Regions from separate parts of the Homo sapiens genome. Here region 1 is linked to region 2. Evidence: promoter capture Hi-C in 16 types of primary human blood cells and fetal thymus (Javierre and others, 2016). All regions are on one chromosome and are shown on one strand. The core of a region is centred on a gene start or on the middle of the fragment in contact, and the rest is flanking DNA. Distances in the headings are between cores, read along the strand shown. Region 1 overlaps TENM2 (teneurin transmembrane protein 2). Region 2 holds the start of TENM2-AS3 (TENM2 antisense RNA 3).

Region 1 (6,314 bases), core at 895-3,394, 260 kb before region 2:
TACCTCTTCATCTGTTCTTTTTTTTCTTTTTTTCTTTTTTTGAGATGGAGTCTCGCTCTGTCTCCCAGGCTGGAGTGCAATGGAGCAATTTTGGCTCCTACAATCTCCACCTCTTGGGTTCAAGCGATTCTCCTGCCTCAGCCTCCTGAGTAGCTGGGATTACAGGCGTGAGCCACCATGCCCAGGCTCTTCATCTCCTCTTAAACTCTCAGAGACTCTGCTGCTGCTGTTAATTTTGCTTTCAGTGTGAAGGGTTCTTTTGGTTTGCCATAATTTTGGGCCCATGACCCGGGAACTTCACCTCCTATTTGAAAAGAAAATCATCTGGGAATGGAAGAGGCGAAATTTAGGAAAAAAACACACTTTTTTTTTTTTTTTTTTTTTTTTTTAGTAATTCAAACCCCAAAACATATTTTGAGGGGCAGAAGGAAAAATAATTAATGCTGTATATGATCACTTCCTACATGTCAAGCCATTATATTGTTATCATCCTTAATTCTTAAACTCTTTTGAGACAAGTAAAGTTATATTTTTATTTACTTTTATGTATTTTTTTTTAAGTTTAACAGAAGAGGAAAGTGAGGTTCAGAAAGATCTGGTGACTTTTTATTGGCACACAATGAGAAAGAACAGATTGGGGTTTTTTCCCTGTTTTTCTTGAGTTGGTATACAGAGTAGATTTGCCAAAGAGCTCCTCAGTTATGCCAGTTACTTTACTTATTTGGGAAGGACTTCTCATATTTATACAGATATCTTTCTTCACATCCTGAAAAGGGCACTGAACAGAGAGAGCTGCATGCTATTACCATTTTTTGCGACTAAATACTTGTGTGGCTGTGAATTAGTTATCCAGGCCTTGGTTTTTTCATCTGTAAAGAAAGGAGATTGGGTTAGATAACATTTATCAAACTTCAGCCATTTTCCATTTTCTATCACCTTGATTTCTGTCCCATCTTTAATGCCACCTATAATATATTGCTTGATATTTTATTTAAAATAATTCCTCCTTGCAACTTAAGTGTCTTTAAAATAAAAACATTTTGTCACCGCTTAAAAGGAAATACCAGTATAAACAAGTAAAATTACACACACGCAATCACACACACATATATGTTTGTATATATGTATGTACGTATATATTCGTATATATGTATATATTTGTATATATATCCGTATATGCGAGTATGTGTGTGTGTGTGTGTGTGTGTGTGTGTGTGTGTGTGTGTGTGTGTAGAGAGAGAGAGGAATATAAGCAATGAAATGCTAGGAACAAACTGAGACTTTCTCCTTAATATAACCAGAAACTTTGAAGACAAATTGAAAACAAAGTATTTCTAATGAAAATGTTCTGGAGACCCAAAGTTGTTTGACACTTTGTCACACTTAGTATCATTTTCTGGGCAACCAATGTCTTATACTGTGTCAGACACTGGAAAAACATGACTTATATATTCTGTCTCACACACTTGTGATTTTCCTCCCTGCCCCACCCCAACCTTCATTTACCTTTGGCCTCATTTTGCCTCATCCTTCCAATTGCAAAATTTGTAAGGACCATCTCTCCTCTGACTGCAGAAATACTCTCTGCATCTTGGCTCATGAGTAGAAAAAAATAAGACCTGGAACAAATAAGAACAATTTCTTCCTGTTCTTCTGGGAAGTTTCAAGGGAAGGAAGTAGACAGAGCTCGATAGTCTGGGTAAAGCCTGAGGCAAGTCACACTGTGTCTTCCACCAGCAGGTGTTTACCCAGTTAAGATCAGTTTAAATTGAATAGTGTGCAAATGAAGATGGAGTTTTCCCTTATATCCCATTTCTCCAATCTTATTGTGCCAGTCTGCCTTCCCCGCTTCTGTCCCTCAGCAATCACCACCAGAAAATTGTCCTTCACTACATATTCCTTGATGGTATTTTAGAAAGAGTAGGGTCATTGCGCTCAAACAGAACTTGGTTCAAATCCCAACTCTCCCTGACTTCAGGGAAGAGACGCTGTGGCTCCTGGTGGTTAGGAGAACTGGGAGTTCTCCAGGAGAGTCTTCAGGAAATTGATGGACAAGGGGGATCTCGCTGGCAGGGGAAAGAGAAGTCAGAGGAAGAGAGGTTGGGGGCATAGCCCTGGTCCCAAACCAGTTGGCTTTTGCAGAGGGTAAGTGATACACAAAAAACTATCTTAAGTAGTTTGGACCTGAGATCTGAAGTTGCCCGTGTGGTTAAAGTCTCACCTATTTTTTAGCACCATTTGCGGGAGAGGAGTACCTCCTTCTTGACCCTCTGCCTTGCTACCAAACCCTCTGCCTTCCTGAATAATTGCTTGATAGCCTTCTCTTTCTTCCTGCCCTCTTTGCCACCCCGGAATACCACTACCTGAAATGATCTCATTTCTGCCTATGTCTACTTGCTTAGTGCTGGTCTCCCCTCACTATAATGTAAAGTTCATAGGACAGACCTTATCTGCCCTGTTCACAAGTTGTTCTCAGGGTCTAGAACAGTGCTGGCAAATAGTATTAGGTCAATAATTATTAAAAAGGTCAAATGAATTGGCCGAAGGCAATTGCCCCCATTCACTCTAACTTAGTAAATTAGTTCCTAATTCTGGCTGTGCACTACTGTCACCTGAGGCTTTATTGGAAACACAGTTTCCAGATCATCACCCCTGGACAGTCTGATTCCATTTGTTTGGGGTGAACCTGAGGAATCTGTATTTTTAATTAACATCTCAGGCATTTTGGACACAGCCAGTGCCTGGACTGATAGGTGGGAATTACTCCCACAGGAAATGTTACTGAAAACAGAACTTTATTATCAGCATCACCTAAACCACATTTCTTATGTTACAGACTATAAATTAAATATATATGCATGACTTTAAAAATATATACCTCCAAGCCACTTCCAGTTTGTGTATGTGCTTCTGGCAGAAGCAATTGTATTTATTCATACCCTGTATCCAATAAGGTAGGGAGACCCAGCTGTTCAAGCAGGTGCCTCCTTCCCAAGAAAAAGATAGATCGATTAGATTAACAATTAAGTGGTGAACTGTTGAGAGGTTGCCCAAATGGCCTTTGGGCTTTCTTCTAGAATGGCATCAATGCACAGTAGAATTGTGGCAGATGGACGATAGTGTTGCATATGCACTCATGCTGGGAATGAGGCCATTTTGAGCTCCTCCACTGGTCCCTCAAAGGGCTGCCTGGTCGGCTTGATGGCTTGAGTTGGCAGTAGGGAGTAACAACTGAGAGCCCGAGCTTTAGAGACAAACAGCCCTGGGTCTGAATCACAGAATGGCCACTGATTAAAGGGCATTTTACATAGCCTTTGCGAGAGCCTCGTATGTTTCATCTGTAATTAGGAATGCTGTTCTCTAATTCATTGGTTTGTGCTGAGCTATTAGTAGAGTGTGGCTGGCATTCTGTATATACGATGCTCAATAAATGCAAATATCATAACCTCTGGGAAGACTGACTTATACCATTCCACTGCCGCAATTGCCGTACCAAATCTCCAAAGACTAAGAAATCTGCCCCTATTGGTCAATAGAGGGGCTAGGCAAAAGTGTTTGGTTGGTCATGGAAAATTGAGGATAATGGAACTTTAATATGTTAAAAAAATTCCTTCTCCAAATTTCATTTGACACTTGCTATATGAATAGTTAGGATTTAATGAATACCTTTTTATAGAGTTACATAATTTTCCTGTAAGATGCATTGGGTTTCCAGAAGAATGTTGAACTTGATTCAATTTTAGCTTGATTCGGGCTATTCAAAATTTATTTCCTGAGGAATAGTCTCATTGGATAAACTTAGGAGTTGTTACTGGAAGACTGGGTAACTGTCATAATGCCAAACATCGGTGCTCCTCTCCCTCACTGTTACCTAAATTTTAAGAAATTTCTAGGCAAAAAAAAAAAAAAAAACCACTTGATTAAGGCAGAGGTTATTAAGTATGGGCAAGAGTGAAGGGCCTGGAGTTGATAGTGGAAAAAATATAGCTTAGGGAATTTCATACCCAGAAGCAAAACCAATATGTACATAGATCTTAATGCTGTGTTTCACTTACAGTTCAGAGTCCACTGCCTTGCCTAGCATGTTCAAGATGTTGTAGTGCCACCATCACTGTATATGAAGGCTAATTACTTGGAATATTCCTTACTGGGTATAAGTGTTCCCCAAAGATTTAGCTTAAGGATGGAACTCAAGAGCCCAGCACAATCATTCCTTTTAACTATTTAAAATATATTTTGGATGCACAACAGACTAATTGATTGAATGCACTTTTCACAATTCCACTTATCTAAGATTTTTAGAAAGGCACCAGAAATCTCAAGTTGAGATTTTAGTATTATCAGAAATGTACAAAAATCATCAGCCTCCTAAATCGACATCTTGCTTGAGTTCCTCTATTCACTCTACCTCCTCTGCACTTATCCAGCTCAATTTCTCATCCCAAGTGAGCCCATTTAACATCTTGTGGCTATCAACTTACAAGGTAAGACAGTAAGAGAGGGCTGGTTCTCAATTATGGCCTTATGTTGGAAGCACCTGGGGATCTCTACAAAACTGGGATCCTGATTGAATTGGTCAGGGTGTGGCCTGGAACTCAGGCTGTTAAGAGCTTCCCAGGTGATTCTCATCCACAGCCCAGGTTCTGAACCAATATTTAAAATAGCAGAGCATCCCTTAAAATAGCAGAGCATCCCTTTCCCCAGGACTAGAGGTGACTCAGCTGTATTTTCTGTGCCTGTGTTTGACGAATTAGTTGCAAATTATATTCCTGCTTTTACATAGTAATTAAAACAGTCATGTTTTCATGGGAGGTTCCTTCATGCTGAGCCTATCCACTCTGTCATTTCTTTGCTTCCTTAGTATGTTGTCTTTTAAATGAGCTTAGTGGAAAAAGTCTGGTTGGTGCATTCTGAGCCTGCTAATCATTTCTTTCCTTTCCCATCCTTTTGAGAATCGGGCCCCAGCTCTTAATCTCTTGGTGTGCATGAATAGTTCTCATTAGTTGTGGTAAGTGCGTTAAGTGAAACTAACTATAGAAGCTCACTGAAACTGGACCGTGTAATCACATTGTTCATCAGAAGGGATTTTAATGTTTACATGCAGAAAAAAAAATTGTCATCACAAGTAGATAAATAGCCCATTATTTTACACTTGAGTTGGTACAGCAGGAGCAAACAGCCACCAAACTACTTCTGTTGACATTCCAGTTGAGCTGCACATAAGAGACATGTGGATGTATCCTGTATATTCTCAGACAACATTCATCTACTCTTGCTTCTGATGTCATTTCCCAATGGGGTAAATATGTCTCTGAAGCTTTATTCCTCCTTTGTGGGAATCGGATCCCCAGTTTTTAGCCATGCTTATTCACAGAGCAGAATTTTCCAGAGTATGGGAGCTACACATACCATAGGCACAGCACCTGCAGTGGCATTAAATAAGTTGGGTCACATAATGAGGGGTAGGCAAACTTTATCTGTAAAGGACCAGATAGTAAGTATCTTAGGCTTTGCAGGCCATGAGGTCTCTGTTGCTACTACTCAGTTCAGCCATTTTAGCACTAAAGCAGCTGTAGGTAAAACGTAAGGAATGGGTGTGGCACCAAAAAAACTTTTATGCACACTGAAATTGGAATTTCATATAATTTTACATGTGAAATGTTATTCTTCTTTTGATATTTTTAGCCATTAAAAAAATATAAAACTCCTTCTTAACTCTAGTTTGTATAAAAACAATCCTTGGGCCAGTTTGCAGACTCCTGCCATTGGAGGAGTCTCAGTGGGATGCTAGACTTTAATGCCTCTCTAAAACATATGAATTTTACATTTTAACAGAGGGAAAGGGTTCAGGTTTGTCTCTGAATCAGACAAAAATAGTTAGCTGGAAATAAAGCATATTGTGTTGAACTTTTTACATTTTATTTTAAACATTTTATTTTACCCTCTATCTGTGGCTACTAAGTGAATTTCTACTTAGAATGGTGATTTAAAAAAAAAAAAAACAAAACAGAATTGGCTGGGTGCGGTGGCTCACGCCTGTAATCCCAGCACTTTGGGAGGCCGAGGTGGGCGGATCACGAGGTCAGGAGATCGAGACCATCCTGGCTAACATGATGAAACCCCGTCTCTGCTAAAAATACAAAAAATTAGCCAGGTGTTGTGGCGGACACCTGTAGTCCCAGCTACTGGGGAGGCTGAGGCAGGAGAATGATGTGAACCTGGGAGGTGGAGCTTGCAGTGAGCCGAGATTGCACCACTGCACTCCAGCCTGGGCGACAGAGCAAGACTCCGTCAAAAAAAAACAAAAAAACAAA
Region 2 (6,476 bases), core at 893-3,392:
TAAAATATTTCATTTTGTAGATTGAGAATCGGTTGCTAGGAAAACCTTGTGTGGAGTTGTCAGAGACAGCGATATCTACAAGGGGATATTTTCCAAGGGAGAGCTCTCCTTTGTTTTTCCTGCAAGGATAGAGGATTTTGTTATTTAAAAAAACGCAGGATGCAATTTGGAGTCGGGGTCATGGCTTGAAAACATCTGCCATGACCTTCTCCAGAGACCGAGTCCTCAGGGTTCATCTCTCAGAGGAAAGAAGTTAGCAACCTGCTGAGCTGAGTGGGCTCACAGGTGTGTTTTGTTCACTCTCATTTTAAAATAGATATATATGTGTATATTACACATATACACATATATACACACATACATACGCAAATATGTGTGTATACACACATACATACGCAAATATGTGTGTATACACACATACATATATATAAATCTCATTTTGAATTGTCAACATTTTTAAAAACTAGGAAATTTTATCTACAAGTCCAGATTTCCAGCTTTTCTAGAGAAATTAGAAATTACGGCTGCCTTGAGCTCTCTCCCTCATTCCCACGTGATCAAATTGACCTGGTGCTGAGTGAGGGCTGCCCCCTAGTCTCTTCACCTCAACTCAGTCCTTAGCTAGCCCACTCCACCTTCCTGCCTAGTCCCTATAGGTATTTAAAGGTACTATTCCCTGACTTAGAGTGTTCCATATTCTTAATATCTTCAAAAGATGAAATTTTTGAAAAGAATGTGTGCAGTATACCAGTTTACCTGGAAAGGGAATAGGGACTTGCTACGCCAGCGATCAGCCTTGAATGTCATGTTACTTTCATTGCAGTATTAATATGTTTCAAATAATTCCTCTGGTCAGCCCTTATCCACCTGGTTTTGCTAAATTAGTTTCTCATTATTCTTCATTTGATGCGTGTGGATAAATGCAAATCAAAGCCCATTATTTATTTGTAACTGACTCTGGGATGCCTGCCGCAGTCTTATCTGTCGCTCTAGCTTGCAGCTTTCAGCAATTGTCAGCTTAGAGACTTTGGTTTGAAACTCTCCTCCAGTGGTTTGCAGAGTGCCTGAGACTGGAATTTGCAGACGCTAACAGTCATTTCTCCTTTTTTTTTCAGGCCCTCCGAACCACCACAGCCAGTCGACTCTGAGGCCCCCTCTCCCACCCCCTCACAACCACACGCTGTCCCATCACCACTCGTCCGCCAACTCCCTCAACAGGAACTCACTGACCAATCGGCGGAGTCAGATCCACGCCCCGGCCCCAGCGCCCAATGACCTGGCCACCACACCAGAGTCCGTTCAGCTTCAGGACAGCTGGGTGCTAAACAGCAACGTGCCACTGGAGACCCGGTAAGTCCCCATCGCCAGCTCACAGTCACACTCAGTGTCACCTTACCCCTGAGTCACCACACAGAGCCACTGGGTGTCTCAGAGTTCCAGTCGGAGAGACCCTCTGGGTATAAATAATGAGACAAGTTTACCACCTCCTTGTTCCCTTGGTAATTTGACCCTGGACAGTAGGTTGACAGGTATTTCTTCGTTCACATGTGTCTCCTTTTAAAGCTTGTTTACTTTCTCGGATAGCTCTTGTGTACCCAACTAATAGAATTAGCATAACATATTTTTACTCGAAGGCTCATGGGAAACATGCTTATAAGGGTATATTGACTGAAAGCTGCTGATAAATTATGCATTTGGCCTTTCTTGAAGTAATAAATGAAGACTCATTTGAAATTAAGTGTTTGGGGAGACCTTGAGAAACAATCCCTGATTCCAAACTGACAGAAGTATAATTTAAATTTATATTTCATCCAACATGCAGTCTCACTTTAATCCCTCCTGTACACACTAACAGCTTGATGCCTGTGGGGCAAACGGTAATGTATAAAAACAAACAAGAAAAAAGGGGCAGCACTTACGTGAGGAGGGAAGAGTTTGAAAATGATCTCCAGGTCTGGCTTTGTTTTGTGTAGCCTTTGCTTCTGTCCTTTTTTCACCTTCGATTCTGTTCTCCAAAACCATATACACCTTAATGATCTGAAAGAAGACCTGTCAGTCAGGGTATGGAGGGGCTGGAATGTCACTGACAGTGAAGGCTCTGTGTGGGTTGGCCAGACTCTGAAACAGCCTTGCTGCTCTATCCCCAGGCACATTCTTGGTTTGTGTGTTTCAAATGCTATTGTTTCCTTGTCTAGAAGAACCATGGAGACGGAACAGAGAGGAGGGCTAATTCATACTGACCCTTCATAAAGTTCCCAAATAGATTTTAAACTTTAATAACTTAGGTTTGAGGAAAGACAGAAATAATCTGTAATGTTTCTGATAATGGCCAGTGAATTCTCTTCACACAGCTGGAAGCAATTTTGAAAGTAGCATTTGGAGTTGTTTCTTACCTATAATTTTTTTGTTTTTTTATAAGATCCTGAAAATTAATATGTTATACATCTTTGTCACTATAATCACTCCAAACTTTTAATTTTATTTTCTGACAATTATAGGATTTTTAAAGAATTTTTGCTTTATTAAGAGAAACTAAAAGAATGAACCTAAGCTAATAAATATCCTTGATCTCAACATTAGTTTAAAAGAATTGGTACAGAAATAAATAAAATGACACAAAATGAAGCACTAAGCCAAATACAAAGGGTGCTGCATTATTATTATTTTCCTCTGCAAAAAATACCTAACGTGTGTGCACACACACACTCACTCACACACACACACACACAAACAAACACACACACAGGCTCTCACACAAAGAATGGTTACATAACAAAGTAAACGTTATAACAACCACATCTGTTTGACTCTTAATCCAAACTAACACGAAAAATCTGTCAAGACAATTGGGGTAATTTAAACACGGATTGGGTATTTAATGATATTAAGAATATAATTATAATTTTATTAGGTGCAGTTTTGGCATGCATGTTTGGTTCAAACATTAAAAACATTCCAATTGAGGAATGAAAAGCTACGTATCGGGTATTATGCTTTTTTAAAATTTATTATAGTTTAAGTTCTGGGATACATGTGCAGAACGTGCAGGTTCGTTACATAGGTATAAACATGCCATGGTGGTTTCCTGCACCCATCAACTGGTCATCTATATTAGGTATTTCTCCTAATGCTATCCCTCCCCTAGGCCCCTGCCCCCTCACAGGCCCCAGTGTGTGATGTTCCCCTCCCTGTGTCCATGTGTTCTTATTGTTCAGCTCCCACTTATGAGTGAGAACATGTGGTGTTTGGTTTTCTGTTCCTGTGTTAGTTTGCTGAGGATGATGGTTTCCCGCTTCATTCATGTCCCTGCAAAGGACATGAACTCATCCTTTTGTTATGGCTGCATAGTATTCCATGGTGTATATGTGCCACATTTTCTTTATCCAGTCTATCATGGATGGGCATTTGGGTTGGTTCCAAGTCTCTGCTATTGTGAATAGTGCTGCAATAAACATATGTGTGCATGTGTCTTTATAGTAGAATGATTTATAATCCTTTGGGTTCATACCCAGTAATGGGATTGCTGGGTCAAATGGTATTTCTGGTTCTAGATCCTTGAGGAATCACCACACTGTCTTTCACAATGGTTGAATCAATTTACACTCCCACCAACAGTGTAAAAGCATTCCTATTTCTCCACATCCTCTCCAGCATCTGTTGTTTCCTGACTTTCAATGATCGCCATTGTAACTGGCATGAGATGTTATCTCATTGTGGTTTTGATTTGCATTTCTCTAATGATCAGTGATAATGAGCTTTTTTTCATATGGTTGTTGCCCACATGAATGTCTTCTTTTGAGAAGTGTCTGTTCATATCCTTCACCCAATTTTTGATGGGGTTGTTTGTTTTTTTCTTGTAAATTTGTTTAAGTTCCTTGTGGATTCTAGATATTAGCCCTTTGTCAGATGGATAGATGGCAAAAATTTTCTCCCATTCTATAGATTGCCTGTTCTCTCTGATTATAGTTTATTTTGCTGTGGGGAAGCTCTTTAGTTTAATTAGATTCCATTTGTCAATTTTGGCTTTCTTTGCCATTGCTTTTTGTGTTTTTGTCATGAAGTCTTTGCCCATGCCTATGTCCTGAATGGTATTGCCTAGGTTTTCTTCTGGGGTTTTTATGGTTTTAGGTTTTGTGTTTAAGTCTTTAATCCATCTTGAGTTAATTTTTGTATAAGGCATAAGGAAGTGTTCCAGTTTCAGTTTTCTGAATATAGCTAGCCAGTTTTTCCAACACCATTTATTAAATAGGGAATCCTTTCCCCATTGCTTGTTTCCATCGGGTTTGTCAAAGATCAGATGGTTGTAGATGTATGGTGTTATTTCTGGGGCCTCTGTTCTGTTCCATTGGTCTATATATCTGTTTTGGTACCAGTACCATGCTGTTTTGGTAAATGTAACCTTGTAGTATAGTTTGAAGTCAGGTAGCGTGATGACTCCTGTTTTGTTCTTTTTGCTTAGGCTATATCACTTGGCCGTATGGGCTCTTTTTTGGTTCCATATTAAATTTTAAGTAGTTTTTTCTAATTCTGTGAAGAAAGTCAATGGTAGCTTGATGGGGATAGCATTGAATCTATGAATTACTTTGGGCAGTGTGGCTATTTTCACTATATTGATTCTTCCTATCCATGAGCATGGAATGTTTTTCCATTTGTTTGTGTCCTCTCATTTCGTTGAGCAGTGGTTTGTAGTCCTCCTTGAAGAGGTCCTTCACATCCCTTGTAAGTTGGATTCCTAGGTATTTTATTCTCTTTGTAGCAATTGTGAATGGGAGTTCACTCATGATTTGGCTCTCTGTTTGTCTGTTATTGGTGTATAAAAATGCTTGTGATTTTTGCATATTGACTTTGTATCCTGAGACTTTGCTTGAAGTTGCTTATCACCTTAAGGAGATTTTTGGGCAGAGATGATGGAGTTTTCTAAATATACAATCATATCATCTGCAAACAGAAACAATTTGACCTCCTGTCTTCCTATTTGAATACCCTTTATTTCTTTCTCTTGCCTGATTTCCCTCGCCAGAACTTCGAGTACTATGTTGAATAGGAGTGGTGAGAGAGGGCATCCTTGTCTTGTGCCGGTTTTCAAAGGGAATGCTTCCAGCTTTTGGCCATTCAGTGTGATATTGGCTGTGGGTCTGTCATAAATAACTCTTATTATTTTGAGATATGTTTCATCAATACCTAGTTTATTGAGAGTTTTTAGCATGAAGGGGTGTTAAATTTTATTGAAGGCCTTTTCTGCATCTATTGAGATAATCATGTGGTTTTTGTCATTGGTTCTGTTTATGTGATTAATTACATTTATTGATTTGCGTATGTTGAACCAGCCTTGCATCCCAGGGATGAAACCGACTTGATCATGGTGGAGAAGCTTTTTGATGTGCTGCTGGCTTCAGTTTGCCAGTATTTTATTGAGGATTTTCGCATCGATGTTCAGCAGGGATATTGGCCTGAACTTTTCTTTTTTTGTTGTGTCTTTGCCAGGTTTTGCTATCAGGATGATGCTGGCCTCATAAAATGAGTTAGGGAGGAGTCCCTCTTTTTCAATTGTTTGGAATAGTTTCAGAAGGAATGGTACCAGCTCCTTTTTGTACCTCTGGTAGGATTCAACTCTGATTCCATCTGGTTCTGGGCTTTTTTTTTTGTTGGTAGGCTATTAATTACTGCCTCAATTTCAGAAATTATTATTGGTCTATTCAGGGATTCGACTTCTTCCTGGTTTAGTCTTGAGAGGGTGTATGTGTCCAGCAATTTATCCATTTCTTCTAGATTTTCTGGTTTATTTGCATAGAGATGTTTATAGTATTCTCTGATGGTAGTTTGTATTTCTGTGGGATCAGTGGTGATATCCCCTTTATGATTTTTTGTTGTGTCTATTTGATTCTTCTCTCTTTTCTTCTTTATTAGTCTGGCCGGCAGTCTATCTATTTTGTTAATCTTCTCAAAACACAGCTCCTGGATTCATTAATTTTTTGAAGGGTTTTTCATGTCTCTATCTCCTTCAGTTCTGCTCTGATCTTCGTTATTTCTTGTCTTCTGTTAGCTTTTGATTTTGTTTGCTCTTGCTTCTCTAGTTCTTTGAATTGTGATGTTAGGGTGTCGATTTTAGATTGTTCCTGCTTTCTCCTATGGGCATTTAGTGCTATAAATTTCCCTCTAAACACTGCTTTAGCTGTGTCCCAGAGATTCTGGTACATTGTGTCTTTGTTCTCATTGGTTTCAAAGAACTTATTTATTTCTGCCTTAATTTTGTTATTTACCCAGTAGTCATTCAGGAGCAGATTGTTCAGTTTCCATGTAGTTGTGCAGATTTGAGTGAGTTTCTTAATCCTGAGTTCTAATTTGATTGCACTGTGGTCTGAGAGACTGTTTGTTATGATTTCCATTCTTTTGCATTTGCTGGGGAGTGTTTTACTTCCAATTATGTGGTCAATTTTAGAATAAGTGTGATGTGGTACTGAGAAGAATGTATATTC

Evidence for each region. The method cuts DNA at HindIII sites, captures the fragments that hold promoters and counts their contacts. A CHiCAGO score of 5 or more calls a contact.
Region 1: a contact is called between a fragment that was not itself captured here and the fragment with the promoter of TENM2-AS3 in region 2, in 1 of 17 cell types (monocytes). The highest score is 5.1, in monocytes.

The regions. Positions count from the first base shown.
Region 1 is chr5:167,689,739-167,696,052 of GRCh38, forward strand. All of the region lies in intron 4 of TENM2 (teneurin transmembrane protein 2), which reads left to right. Among named protein-coding and RNA genes, the nearest start is that of TENM2-AS4, 33 kb to the left of the region's middle. The HindIII fragment of the contact is 6,342 bases long and covers 1-5,315 here.
Region 2 is chr5:167,951,473-167,957,948 of GRCh38, forward strand. It overlaps TENM2-AS3 (TENM2 antisense RNA 3), which reads right to left and starts at 2,143. Exons shown (of 3, transcript XR_941186.3): 1 at 1,920-2,143. TENM2 (teneurin transmembrane protein 2) reads left to right here. Exons shown (of 31, transcript NM_001395460.1): 6 at 1,116-1,350. The HindIII fragment of the contact is 3,808 bases long and covers 1,562-5,369 here.